2 separate regions of the Homo sapiens genome follow, and region 1 is linked to region 2. Evidence: promoter capture Hi-C in 16 types of primary human blood cells and fetal thymus (Javierre and others, 2016). All regions are on one chromosome and are shown on one strand. The core of a region is centred on a gene start or on the middle of the fragment in contact, and the rest is flanking DNA. Distances in the headings are between cores, read along the strand shown. Region 1 has its middle 32 kb from the start of SLN. Region 2 holds the start of ELMOD1 (ELMO domain containing 1).

The links. The method cuts DNA at HindIII sites, captures the fragments that hold promoters and counts their contacts. A CHiCAGO score of 5 or more calls a contact.
Region 1: a fragment that was not itself captured here is called in contact with the fragment with the promoter of ELMOD1 in region 2 in 1 of 17 cell types (endothelial precursors); the score reaches 5.6 in endothelial precursors.

The regions. Positions count from the first base shown.
Region 1 is chr11:107,676,081-107,683,649 of GRCh38, reverse strand. No RefSeq gene overlaps it. Among named protein-coding and RNA genes, the nearest start is that of SLN, 32 kb to the left of the region's middle. The HindIII fragment of the contact is 5,075 bases long and covers 3,024-7,569 here.
Region 2 is chr11:107,586,273-107,593,694 of GRCh38, reverse strand. It overlaps ELMOD1 (ELMO domain containing 1), which reads right to left and starts at 2,548. Exons shown (of 12, transcript NM_018712.4): 1 at 2,286-2,548. It also overlaps the pseudogene SUCLG2P3. RefSeq lists an enhancer at 2,046-2,105 and silencers at 2,356-2,495, 2,556-2,665. The HindIII fragment of the contact is 4,180 bases long and covers 1-3,935 here.

The DNA.
Region 1 (7,569 bases), core at 4,312-6,811, 87 kb before region 2:
TTTTTCACACTGTCAAAAAAAAAGTAGACATAGGCCTCATTACTCTTGGGAGATTTGAAAGGTTTCTGGAAAAAGATGATAGCTGAAAGATTATTCTTTTTCATCATACATTCAAAGTCTAATGTGGATAGCTCCCTCATCCTTGGCTTTGAAATGACAGTTTACCAGCTTTTTCTCTCTTCTCACAGCTCCTTGATGAAGAGCTGATTCTTGCACCAAAATTAAGGTAGATGACATATCCCCCAAATTACATTTTCTGTTTTATGGCTGACTTCTTCTTTCATACAGAGAGTTGGAGAATTTCAGAAGTGGAGAAACATTAGAGATTACCTAATGTCTTCATTTTCTCGATGAGGAAACTAAGATCCAAAGACATTCTGTGGCCAGCCCAAAGTCAAGCAGAAATGAAACTCATATCTGATCTCAACTCGGTTTTTTCCATCCTAGCACATAGCCAATGAAATAATTTTTTCTCAGATTTTTTTTAAGAGTTTACAACATAATTCAGATACTTCAGAAAACTGAACTTCCAAATTTCTAGGGAATATATTCTCCTCATTCAATAGGAAAATGTGAGTCAGTTTCTCTCTGAAGGAGAGAAAAACTGAAGGTTTTCCTGTACCCCAGTGCTGTTCCCCTTCTCCAGTTTCTGTGGCACTCGGCCCCTGTATCTTGCCAGTGTGCACTCGACCATAGCACAAGGATTGTTATGCTCTGCTCATTTCATGAATATTGTCTGGTGTCCTTGGCTCCTTTATCTTTGCCTAGATACACTGTACCACCTAACAGTATTTCAATCAATGTATGAATGATAACTTGTAGGTTGATTAGTTTGTCAATCGTCTTTGTTTTGCAGCTTACTTCTGCTTTCAGCACTTCTTGATCCTGCTCTCCATGGCCGCGGGCTGCCTGCCTGTCCACTCTAGCAACCTGCTTAGGCTACAGCCATGTGTCTTTCCCATTCCGGCTATCTTCTCAACCATCAGAGTTAGCTCATTATTAGTCTCTTAGGCTTAGTTGCTTTGTTAACTTTGATGATCATATTATTAGGTATACATGGAGAGTGTCTGTTTCAGATACTTATTGCTGCATTATCAATCACCACAAAATGTAGTGACTTAAAACCACAGGCTTTTATTGTTTCTCATGAGTCTACAGCTGATTGGCCCTTCTGATCTGGGTTGAGCATGGCTAATCTTGGCTGGGCTTGCTCATGCAACTGTAGTTAGCTGGCAGATCAGCTGGAGACTTGTTGGTCTAGGGTAACTTTGCCAAAGACAGCTTGACTTGCCTCCACGTGGTCTTTGGTTCTCCAGCAAGCTAGCCCAAGCTTGTTCCCATGGTGGTGAACACACTCAAATAGAGGAACAGGAAACTCAAAGGTTCTTTTTCTTTTTTTTTCTTTTTTTTTTTTTAAGACGGAATCTCACTCTGTCACCCAGGCAGTCTCGACTCACTGCAACCTCCGCCTCCCAGGTTCAAGTGATTCTCCTGCCTCAGCCTCCTGAGTATCTGGGACTACTGGCACATGCCACCACGCCCAACTAATTTTTGGATTTTTAGTAGAGACAGGGTTTCACCATATTGGGCGGGATGGTCTCAATCTCTTGACCTTGTGATCTGCTTGCCTTGGCCTGCCAAAGCAAAAGGTTCTTTTTCTAGCCTCTGCCTGAGTCAAGTTTGATACTGTCTATTGGTGAAAAGCAAGGCACAAGTCCACAGTCAGTGGAGAGAGTGGAGAAATCAGATTCAGGGAGGTGTGAACCTTGAGGCTTCTGGTGCAATCAATCTAGCACAACATCCATATTAAAACAATTTAAAAACTATCCAAGGCCGGGCACAATGGCTCATACCTGTAATCCCAGCACTTTGCGAGGCCAAGGCGAGTGGATCACCTGAGGTCAAGAGTTCGAGAGCAGCCTGACCAACATGGTGAAACCCTGTCTCTACTAAAAACAAAAATTAGCTGGGCATGGTGGCAGGTGCCTATAGTTCCAGCTACTCAGGAGGCCAAGACAGGAGAATTGCTTGAACCCTGGAGGCAGAGGTTGCAGTGAGCTGGTATCGTGCCACTGCACTCCAGCCTGGGTGAAGGATTGAGACTCTGTCTCAAAAAACAAACAAACAAACAAAAACACCAACTATCCAAGCTGGTTGGTTGTCATATATATGCATATACATAAGAATGCATTTGTAGATAAATAGATGATAGATAGATAAAGAATGTCTATGTGTGTGCAATTTTAATCCAAAATAAAAATAATAACCAATGGAGTAGTAATCAATGGAGTAGACATTAGTTGTTTTTGGTCGCCCTTCTCCAGTGTCCATTTGTCCCACTTCTTCCAAAAGTACCTGATTTATTTAGAGGTGAATGACTCCTCCTCTTCTCTTCATGTCTGTAGTTTTGGTGGAGTGACACATGACCACATTTAGTCAAAGCACCTAGCAACGGTCATTGTTCAAGGGATGAGTGCATGTCTCAGGTTAGGCTACTAAGAGACTCAATTCCAGGTCTTTATTTAAAATAGGCTGCCCTACCAAACTTCTTGCCAGGACCTGAACCTAAAAGTAAATAACATGGGAGCAGCTTCAGTCACTTTGCCACTGTGGAGCCAAGAGATGGAGACAAACTCAATTCTGGTGACATTTTTTGAGCCGCTAGATTCATCTATGTCTGAAGCCAGATGTATGATTCATTTATTGATATTTATTGATGGTAATCAGTAAATCTTTTTATTTTATTTAAATGTTAAAAGATTAGTACATATAAAGTACCTAGATCCATTTCTAGCAATAATAAGCACTCAATATGAGCTATTACTTGTTTATAGCAATTTGAGTTGGGTTTTCTGTTATTTGCAATCAAAGGAAGTCTAACTTAGGCAACCAATGAGAGAACAAGATATTAAAAAGAGTCCATTTATAATAGTAACGGGGAAATTACAAACCCGCCCCCCCACCAAATCCATAGGTATTAACCTAGCAAGAAATGAGACCTATACGAAGAAAGTGACAAAGCTTTATTGAGAGACCAGAAGAAGATCTGAATATGTGAAAAGAAACAAGAACCTAGATGGGAAGATTCCATATTTTAAATGGATCAAATATCCATAAGAAAATATACAAATTTGTCTACTGATTGGTTCCTTTTTCTCCATGTCCCACACCCTGATACACCTACCCCAACTCTTTCAAATGCACACTCTTCTTTCTCCTGTAATTGTGTCCTCCTGATTTAACCTTCCCAGTATTCTCCGAATCTGTTTCTTCATCTATATACTCACTTCTACAATTCCAGTTTGGGCCCCTATAATGTGTCACCTGGACTACACTACCAATTTCCCAACAATCTTGCTGTTTCTTTTTCTTTTTGATGCTTTAAATTCAGCCTCAAGTTCCAGCTTTTTTTTTTTTTGAGACAGAGTCTTGCTCTGTTGCTCAGGTTGGAGTGTGGTGATACAATCAGTAGCTCACTGTAGCTTCAAACTCCTGGGATCAAGCAATCCTTATGCCTCAGCCTCCCTACTAGCTAGGTCTACAGGTGTGTACCACCATGCCTGGCTGATTTTTTTTTTTTTTTTTTTGTAGAGACAGGGTCTTGCTTTGTTGCCAAGGCTGGCCTTGAACTCCTGAACTCAAGGGATCCTCCTGCCTTGGCCTCCCAAAGTGTTCAGATTACAGGCATAAGCCACCATGCCTAGCCAAGTTCCAGCTCTTTAACTAAGCCATCATCCAAGATCTAGTTGCCATGATATATGATAATGATTTGTGATCCTAATGTCTGAAAATGGAGTCACTCACGTCAAGTGACATTGAGCCCATGGTGAAGTTGTTTACATCTCAAAGTGATAAACATATGTGTAATGGACTGAGGTAGTAAGACAATACCTGCTGTGGCCTAGAACCACTGAGACATGAAACGAACCAATAAAAAGTAAATTCAGAAAGGTGGCTGAGATACTGAGAATGGACACACCTCTGGAGGACCATAAAGGCAGCAAGAACCTGACCTTGGACAGGACACCTTTTGACCCTCTGACCACCTTTTGAGGCCTCCCCCCAACTTGGCGTTTGCCCCCTCCCCATCCACTCCCAAGGCTCTGTCTAAGAGAAGCAGTGACTTCATTGCTGATTGAAGTCAAGGACTTTGGACCCACTTAGCCATGTGTTGGTCTCCCAACCCATCGCTGTGGTTTGTTACCTCCAATTACTGCTTCTATGGATGTTATACAGGATATTATTGCTTCATTAATCATATGTGACTCTCTTGTAACAAACTGTGAATTTGAGCACATTTAATTGGTTGAGTCATTGTGAAAGTCAGAGTTAGCACATCTAGACTGCACAAACCTAAGTAACACAACACCATTTTTATCCCATGCTCCCTGCTCTCTGACAACACTGAATTGCTTGTAATGTTCTGTGCTCTTTCTCACCTTAGTGCCTTTATTCATGTTGACCCCATGCATGGCCTCTCCCATAATACCTAGGACTTGGTACCAACCATTGCCCTCAGCTCACTCCAGCATAATTAACTGTTTAAATGTCTGTCTCCCAACTCTTGGACCTGCAGGCGAGGAGTAGGTCTTATTCATCTTGTATCCAGGTACCTAGCAGAATGCCTGGCATGTAATAGGCCCTTGATGAAGATTTGCCAAAGCCTGGAAAAGAGAATGCAGGGTTCCCTGACTCTCTGATTGTGCCAGAACAGGAAAAATGAACATTTCTTTGAGGGATATTCCTCCCATGTAACAGGACCATAAGCAAGTCGGCCCCAGGGTGCGTGAAGCTGATGAGCGGGAGAAAATAAAGACACAATATTCAGGGTTGAGCAGTGAGATGGAAAATGAATACGGTCAGTTGTGCTAAAACTATCATTCCTTGCAGCAGCGATAATAGCAAGACATAAATATTCATGATGTCATTATTTAGAGAGTTATGAAGTGTCGGCAGAGGATGTACTGTCTGGAATTTTTGCTTCAGTGCCTAAATTTATTACTGGTAAAATTAAGCAAAACAAAACAAAACAAAACATAAATAAAACGCAGTGGTCTCTGACAGCCAGCGAGACGATGACAAACTCTCAAGGTCATGGCTAAGCAAAAGGAGGGCCCTGGTCAGCGCCAGCCCAGGGGGCTCCTCTGACAAGGCTTTTATCTGGAATATTGCTAGGGTTGGCTATCATTGCTAATGGCAACCTGGCCTGAATACTTAAGAGGGTCTCCTCTTCCTTGCCAAATGCATAAATTCACTCTCCTGAGGCTGTTCTTTCTTTCTCTTAAGGTTATTTGTGTTATTTAAATAAAAACATTTATTATTTTCTCCAGATTACAGATAGCATATATACTCATGAAAGAAAATGTGGTTAACAGAAATAGTATGTATAAAATAAAAATAACTTCTAATCCTACCACCCAAAGATAACCATTTTGGTATATTTTCTTTCAGTTCCATTTCTAACATAATTTAAGTGCTGAACTGGTGGGATGTAGCATATGTTGTGTAATAAAGAACTGAGCTGAGCCAGAAAAGCTGGGTTTGCAGCACGTCTGTGCTAGTTTCTTAAAGCTGGGAAGCTGTAAGCATGGTACTCAGTTTTCTTATTTGTAAAGTATGGATAAAGACAATATACCACAGAATTAGTTTGAGAGTTAAAAGAGAAAATGGGCCGGGCTCAGTGGCTCACACCTATAATCCCAGCACTTTGGGAGGCCAAGGCGGGTGGATCACCTGAGGTCAGGAGTTGAAGACCAGCCCGGCCAACACAGTGAAACCCCGTCTCTACTAAAAATTCAAAAATCAGCTGGATGTGGTGGCACATGCCTATAATCCCAGCTACTCAGGAGACTGAGGCAGGAGAATGGCCTGAACCCGGGAGGTGGAGGTTGCAGTGACCGAGATCACACCACTGCACTCCAGCCTGGGCAACAGAGTGAGACTCTGTCTCAAAAAAAAAAAAAAAAAAAGAAAATGAATTTGTCCTAATATAATAGGACCATAAGCAAGTCTGCCCCACGGTGTGTGAAGCTGATGAGTGAGAGAAAACAAAGCCAGAATACACTTGACTCAATGAATAGCATGCACTAGGTGGTCAGTCATTGGTAGCTATCGCTATTATTATTATTATTATTATTATTATTATTATTATTATTTTTGAGACAGAGTCTCGCTCTGTCGCCCAGGCTGGAGTGCAGTGGTGGGATCTCGGCTCACTGCAAGCTCTGCCTCCCGGGTTCACGCCATTCTCCTGCCTCAGCCTCCTGAGTAGCTGGGACTACAGGCGCCTGTCACTAGACCCGGCTAATTTTTTGTATTTTTTTTAGTAGAGATGGGGTTTCACCATGTTAGCCAGGATGGTCTCAATCTCCTGACCTTGTGATCCGCCCACCTCGGCTTCCGAAAGTGCTGGGATTACAGACGGGAGCCACTGTGCCCGGCCACTATTATTATTATTAATAACTTAAGTCATCTAGTCTCAGAAATCATCCTACCCTCCTCCCTATACCTCACCCCTACATCTAGCCGGTTACCAAATCCTGCTGATTTTACTTATTTTGTGCTACGCAAATATCTCTGAGGGGATGGGATACTCAAATATATCCCCTCAGTCTCTGCTTTGGTTCAGGCCCTCGGAATTTCTTCCCTGGGCAACCACAGTTCTATTTGTTTCTTTTTCTGCTTCCTTCCAACCATTCTTCAAGAGGCAGGCAGACAGAATTTCTTAGATGCAAATGTGACCACATCAGGCCTCTGCGATAGTCACAGGGCTGCCTCATATACGTGTGTATATATATGCATATTTGCGTGAATCTATATGGGTGTGCATGCGTGTGTGTGTATGCATGTGTGTGTGTTTGGGAATTCTGAAGCTGAAGGAAGGAGTTTTGTGCTTTGGCCCCAGGAGAGGGATGGAGCGTGTGGAATTGTGTCTAAAATCCCATCTGGGCTTGGGTTCCCCCTAATGGAGGAGTTTGTGCGAGCCTGAAGACACTGTTTTTTAGGTATTTTTGGTGAGGCTATTGCTGCAGGGACCTAGGGACCAGGGGGACTCTGAATGATTTGTCATAACATCTGCATGACCCACAGCTGCAGTGTCAGCTGCTGCAGCAGCAAAGAAGCCAGGAGGGTTGAGCTGCAGAAGGCAGCAACCTGCTCAGGGCTCTGGCATAGCACCAAAGCCAAGGCCAACACACTCTCTCTCAATCGTTTGTGGAAGAGCACATCTGGATGTGTGGGTATTCCTAAATCCTCCTCCAGGAAAGATTTCAAAGAAAGGATCTGTGTTCCTGAATACAAGCAGACCTGTTATACCACACCCTTCACGACCTGGCTTCTGCCTTTGTCTCTGGCTCCTGCCTCATTTCTCGTTAGGTACCAACAACATCCGTGCTCCAGCCATTCTGTGCTAACATTGTTCTCTGGATGTGTCATGTATATGTCCATGTGTTTGCACCTGGTCTGTTAGTTAACATTAGGTCAGGCTGTAAATAACAGAGATTTAAATAAAAGCTAGCAGCTTAAACAAGATGGCTTATTTCACTTTCACATTCAAGTCTAGAGGAGGAC
Region 2 (7,422 bases), core at 1,299-3,798:
TTATCTGAAATTCAAATTTAACTGGGCAGCCCACCTTTTTATTTGCTAAATCTGGAAAACCTAACAGTGCTTTGTTAAAAATTCTCAGAGGACTCGGAGAACGCTTCCTTTAATGCACCTGGGGATTTGTATGCAAGCTCCGCAAACTTCTCAATCATCCAGATTTCATGTCTGTTAATGCAACTAGGTTTCTTTCTGAACATCTCAGTAACGTGCTTTAAGAAATGCTGCTTAATTTATTACATGACATTTTCACTTATTTTGTCCATTTCATAGAATTTTTCTTATAATACAATTTATCGAAGATTTTACAAAGAATACTGTAATTTTGCTTAAGATCTCTTGGAAAGCTAACATTTATAGAGTTATTATCATGCCTCAGTTAAGTCCTGGCTGCAAGTATTAATTTTTGAAATTTTCATATTTTCAATTAAATCAGCAGAATGCAAAAAGAGAAATAAACAAATCTTTGATTTGGAGATTTATTTTCTTCATTAATCAAGCACAGCAATACATAGTATCCTTACTAACAGCCTTGCAGAAGCAGCCTGGCAGGCGGAGGTGGAGCCTGTGATGTAACTGCGGTAGGTCTTTGTTGGAAAAGCCTTCCCTAAATGTAAAACATCTGTAAATTGAAGCACTTCAGCTTCACTGTGCATGGGCTGGCAAGATTAAAGAGTTGCTTCTTTCAGCATCCTGTACTGGAGGCTTAAAATTTTGTTCCACAGAGGAATTCCTTATAGGTCTTTACGAAGATTACGTATCTATCTCACCAAAGCTGGGAGAAAAGCAGGCTTTTTCTGCAAAAGAGAACCATTTCGAGTACTGATTGCTGTGTGTGCTGGTTTACTGGTAAATGGTGGTGATGCAATGGAAGTTATAACCCAAAGTGTAGGAAGACGCCCTACAACCTGTTCCAGTCCTCAACGTTCCCTACGTTAATGGGTTCTTCTTTCAGTGTTCTTGACAGTGATGTCTTACAGAGAAGACATTTATTTCTTCTTCCTATGAAAAAGATTAAGATGAGAGAAATACCTCCCAATGTAGATACAAGAGTGTGCCTTTGGCAAAATACCAACTAAACTGACCCCCGAGAAAACTTCTGGGGGAGGGAATGACTAAGTCTGCTGTAACTACGTGTTGTCATAATAGGTTAATGAATTAAGACATTTATCCCAATACAAGCATACTACCTGCTTTCCACCATATTGGCAGCACCAGTTAAGGACGGTTGTCAAGCCACCGGCACAAAACGTATACATTGCAGAGATGCAGAACAATGCCTGGATGCCTGCCCAAAATTGGTCTCTCCAAATGACAGACTCAATTGATAGTACCAATCTACGGCCCACTGGGGGTTAGCAGCGTATTTTCCTAGGTGGTGGGGGAAAGGGATGAAATGTGGAAAGCTCAGGGCACTGTGCAGAGCAGAAAGGCTGACAACATATTCATTAAACTTGATCTGAAGCAAGTGAGCCCGTGAGGTCGTTCCTGAAATATTCATAAGATGTGTTACCGAACTCGCCGCTTAGAGGTTGAGCATAAACACTGAGTCAGAACAGCCCGTACCCACACTTGGAAAACAAAAAAAAGCACCCACAACAGCTCACCCCACCACCACACTCCACTGCTCTGCTTTTAACAGCCCCGTCAGCTGTCAGCTGTCACTCCCCACTCGGCTGTCCAATTCTACCTGCCCGGGAAAGAGATGCTCCAATATTGAAGTGCGGAGTTTCCCAGCAGTTGGAGGAGGCGCAGCTCAACAGCCCAGCCGACCGCTCCTCCCAGCTCGCTGCGCGGAGGACCCCACAGTCCGGCGGCCCCGCAGCCCGGCTGCCTAGCTCCTCCCTGGAGACCGAAGCCCACAAGGCAAGGGGTTCCCAGGGACCCAGACCAGCCCCTCGCCCCAGCCAGGCCGCCCTTGTCCCGCCTTCCATTTTGGCTCTGTCTGGGATCCCTTCCCCGAGCCCTCGGCGTTAGGTCGCTAGGCGACCTACGCCCGGGCCGAGATGCAAACAGCCTCTCGCGCCGACCTGCAGCCTCTCGGGTGTTAATTGGGAGGACAGGATAGAAGGGGAAATCACTGTCCTGGGTGACCCCGGAGCCCCTGCACCAAGGCAGAGTGCACTTTCATTCCCGTTCCCTCTCTGCCCCCGATGCTTAGCATTTCTGCTGCCTCCCAGGCACAGCGCAGCTTGCGTGATGCCTCGCGTCCTCGCCGCACCTCTCTCCTCCCCAAGGGCATTCGCCCCTACTCCCTAGGCTCCTCTGGGGTCGCCAATCACCTGGACTCTGGCGGCGGTAGGCTCAGCAGCTCCCGGCGCGCGGCGGCGTGGTCTTCATCTCCGCCTTCCCCAGGCGCTCCGGCTACGCGCTCCGCGGCGGCGAGCGACGCGCTCGGTCCCGGGCGCCGAGGCTGGACAGGGGCGGCCGCGGCTGCCGCACTGGCTGCGGGCGCGGAAGGGGCGGGGGCGGGGCAGGAATCTGGGTCGCGTGGAGCGGAGCAAGCCGGGATGCACCCGGGGCGGCTGGCGGCGAGGAGGCGACCGAGAGCAGCGGGGGAGGGCGTGCAGAGGCTTCCCTGGGAGCACGAAGCGGGCGGCTACTGAGCATGCCCAGTCCGGGAGCCGGGGGCGCGGGCGCGGTGCTGGGGGAGAGAGCGCGGCACCCAGTGCCGGAATCTGGGGGGAAAGGGTTAAATCTGCGGACCCCGCTGCTGTGGGAGGTGGCTGGTGTGGCCCAGTTTAATTGCTCCCGGGTGGCCTCCCTGGAGGAGCCCACGACAGGAAGATGGTGAACCTGAGATGACCTGTCAATGGGATTCCCAGACAGTCCGGGCAAGGTGTGTTCCCCGCCCTCTCCCTGGATAATTGTCCAGAAGTCAAACTTTGTTTTAGTTCAGCTCCAACCTCCCTCGTCTCACCGAGCACCCAGTGACTCTTCCAATCCTGATCCCCACCCTTCACCTGCCTTCCCGGGACTGCAGAACCCTATCCCTCACCCCAACCGGCAGCCCCCGCCTTTCCCACTCCTGGCCCAGTCGGGTCAGATTCTCAAAGAGCCAGCTCTTTAATTAGGTGTAATTGAGAGATCGTGTCAATCCTGCGAGGTCCATATCTGCATTTCAACAAGGGCTTTAGAAGCAATACCGTAACCCCGGGGTTAATTATAACAGGATGAATTATAGACACCCTCGTCCGGGGCTGTTTGGGGGAACATTGCTTCGTGGGGCCCCAGAAGCCACTTCATACAGACAGAGAGAGAGAGAGAGAGAGAGAGAGAGAGAGAGAGAGAGAGAGAGAGAGAGAGAGAGAGAGAGAGAGAGAGAGAGAGAGAGAGAGAGAGAGAGAGAGAGAGAGAGAAACCTGTGCCTTCCGGATTGCATTTCATGTTTGATGAAGAACGTTTTCTCCATAGCTAATCAAAAAAGTCTCTTTAATGAGGCCGCATGGGGTTGGGGAAAGACCAAATGAGCTTCGAGGTCGGCGCTTATTTTAGTTTCATTCATCACTCCAAGCCGGTTACCTGACCGTCTTGTGCCTCTGTTTCCTCACCTGTAAAACAAAGGGTGGTTAATACCTACCTCTGCGGGCTGTTGTGAGGATTACTTGGGCAGCTGGCGGCGCGGAGCAGCCTGGATACCAAAGCATCTGCCTGTCCCGCAGTGGATGTTCCCTGAATAAAAGTCTCTGCAGGTTCCACCTCCACTATTCTGTGTTTATGAAAAGTTGGGTTAGTGATAATCCTTAAATGCTGAACATTTATCTTATTTCCTCTTCACATTAAATGACCTTAAAGCCTTGACCTTTCTGATTTTTTTAATCATTGTTAAAAGCATTAGCCACTATTTACTTTTCTTTCTTTTCAGGGAGATATGAAGGATACCTCCCTGAATAAACGTCTTGGAAAAAGATAGACCTTTGGAGGGAAAAGCTTCTCGGGAGAGATTCATTAGGGATAGATTAATCCACCTGACAAAAGAATTTTACTCCATAGTCTTTTAAACGTAATTTGCTTGCATCTCCCTGTGGTCCTTGTTTCACAACTATTGCATGAAGTAATGTATGCCTGTATGGAAGGAAATTTACTTCCCATGCATACTGTTGACTATTTAAGTATCAGAATTCAAAAGATAAACTTTTTATTATCCCCCAAACATACTATTTTTTTAATAACACATTGCTTTATTCATGGTGTTCCACCCTTTCTGAAATACCATTCTCAAAAAAAAAAAAAAAAAAAAAGAAATACCATTCTCTCTCATTCTATTTCATGAAGTGCTACTCACTCTTCAAGCTCAAATGTCACCTTCTCTCTGAAGCCTACCCTGAACCTCAAGACAGAGTGAATGCTGTGCTCTCATAGCACCAGTGCATACTGCTATCACAGTACTCATCACAGCCTATCACTGTGGTTCAAGCAATGTAAAACTACTTACTGAGCAACTGTTATTTGCAGGCGCCATTCTACATGTTAGGAAAATAAGAACAAACAAGACAAAGTTCCTGCCCTCATGGAACTTACAGTCTAGTTGAAAAAGACAGAAAATAAACACCTAAACTGTAAATAATCACTAAGGACAGAAGTCTAGTAATTCTGTTAATTTTTGTCTTTGTGTTATCCATCAAATTACGCTATAGAGTCTTGACTCATCCTTCCAAAAAACATCAATAAAAATATTAATATTGGCTCTAGGCCAAACAAATGACATGGACATGGATCTCTGCCAGTTTGTTGCTGAACCAGTGACTTTTACTCCTTTCAGTTGATTCCCTCAGCTAAAACTTTCCTAAACTCAAACCACTCAAGGTAGGTAGCTGCAATCCCATGTGATGAATGGAAAATGGTAGGGGAGGGCTAGAGAGTTTAATCTCCACAACAAATTATATCCTTTATCTAACCTTTAGGAATGGCATTTCTAAAATGTCCAGAATCAACCTGGATCCCCAGATCTCCTGCATCCCAAAAGTCTCTTCCAGGGTCTTGCACACCACTCCCACCCTCTCACCTTTTCACCATCTTTGGCCTCTATTTATGTCAATAGTTATTCTCTGTCATACATCTTCTGTTTGAATCTACCTACTGTCTGAATGACAAGCTTTTCTCTCTGATTCTCTTATTGTCTAAGTGTGAGGCAGCCTTGGTATCACTTAGAACTGACTTCTTCAAAGCATATTTGTACACATGTATGCCATAGCAATTAGAGACAATCTCGCCACTGTTTAATGTGAGTAATTCAAGGGGAGGGTCTCATTCATCTTTGTATTACAGAACTTAGCAGATGACCAATATGTAATAGATACTCAAGGAAAAGTGTGAAAGGAATGAATGAATGTAAGCAGGTTCTCAACTCTATGTGGCTCCTTAGACTATAGTTCTTTTCTAATTGGTTTTCTTGCTAACCCTAGAATTGCTTCACCAGGATCTGGCTCAGTTTTTCTTTTCATAATTTCTCTTCCACCACAAATCCACAGATTTCTCCACCTCTGGGTCCTGCATTATTTTGGGATAAAAATACCTATTGAACAGATTAACATGCAGTCAACAGAGAGGGTATTTGAAGAAACTGAGATCATGTGATGTAGCATTTACAGGTAATGAGTGAAGAATCCAGAGAGGAGAATGTTGTGCCTCTACAGCCTCCCCAGAGTTACAGCCGGAGAGCTGAAGAGGAAGGGGAAGAGCTAGGAGATGCTTTGTCATCAGCTTAGACTCCATACTGGCCCATTACAAGTGACACAGAATTTGAGTCTTTTCCAGACAGGTGGATATATTTCCTTGCTCAGAAGATCTGTTACTGAACATTATCATTTAGAATTTATTTGACTATAAATGTCCTCACCTAGAAATGTCTTCCTTTAGCAAAGGGTAGATTGAGCAATGGACAAGCAAGTTGGAATTTCCTGCCTGGATCATTTTGTGGGTGGGGTGGAAGTCATGGCCCATTTATGTATTTGTAATCTAGCACTGGTCTTAAGCACTGTGGGAGGAAAGTATTCTTCGATGTATTGGCTTCATAATAAAACTAGAAAGGGAATCTTTGGACTTAAAAAGCATGAAGTCTTGTCTAATTTTGCCTAATTGTTGTGTAAAGCTTAGAAATTAATGTAAGGCCACTCTGCTTTCCAATGGAATGGATTTTATAGGCTTATGGTATTCTGGACGTAAAACCACAGCAGCAGCTGGATTCAACATGCTCATTAATATCTATAGTGATAAAATTGTGACTGAGATTACATGAGGGTTAATCATCATGTTAGAGAATGCGTTAAACTAAACAAACTAAGACTCTCAGACATGCTGCTGTGGCAGTCCTCTAAATGTGATCTCGAGAGGGTTTCCAGTGGCACAAGGACTCATCCAAACCGTAATTCATGTCATAACCATTTATTAAGCACTTAGTATATATAAGGCACTATACTAGATACTGGGGATACAAAGCTGGATAAGACACTATGATTTTCAGGAACTCAGATCTGGACAGAAGCATACACACCGCTCCCTGCCCCAACACACACACACACAATGTAGGCTTTTTCTCAAGGTTGGTTTCCAATGTAGAATTAAATCTGTATGAAGTACCCTTCTCGCTGGGCATGGTGGCTGTTTCCTATAGTCCCCATTACTTGGGAGGCTGAGGTGGGAGGATCAATTGAGCCCAGGAATTTGAGACCAGCTTGGGCAACATAGTGAGACCCATCTCAATAAAATGAGGAAAAAAGGTCCCTTCTTCTCTCATCTCAGTTACCTAGTCAGACTCCTCTGTGCCTGGTTTTTGTTTAAGGTGTCATTCTCCTATGACAATGCAGGTCAAAAAATTTTGTGAATGCTGGTGCTCAGGCCCCACTCCTTTCAGAGAAGTCCAAGGGAGTTGAATTAACATCTAAAAGATGGCTGCTCCTGCAGGTACCTAAGAGCAAGAAACTGATGTCAGAAAACAGGGTAAAAGTTAGAATATTTCGTAACTGGCACTGGGTGTGATGTTCCCACAATAAAGTTTTAATGGGCTAATCCTGCAATGGCCTTTACTGATGGCAGCCTCCAGGAGAGGCGTTATAAGTGGCAGCTTCTTACCGGAATTTATTTTTAAGGAGGAAATTTACATTTTGAGGGCATAGAGAACAGTCAAGTTTAGTAAAGGGGAGAAAATGTAGGCTTCTACAGGTCTACAAAAATCAGGCTTAACCAGCTGTTTTACTGCTTCCTGAAATTATATGCTACTTAGCTTGAAGTGAAACCTTTGGTGAAACTCTGGAATGATAGGTTGTCTATTTTGATGTCATGATAAACCTTGAGGACAATGCAGAATGTCCACAAAAAACATATTTGGCATGGCCAACAAATTCAAGGTGTGTCTATCGAAAATGAAGCAACCAGATATGATCTAAAATTAAAACTAGATGGGAATCCTTACTAAGTGAT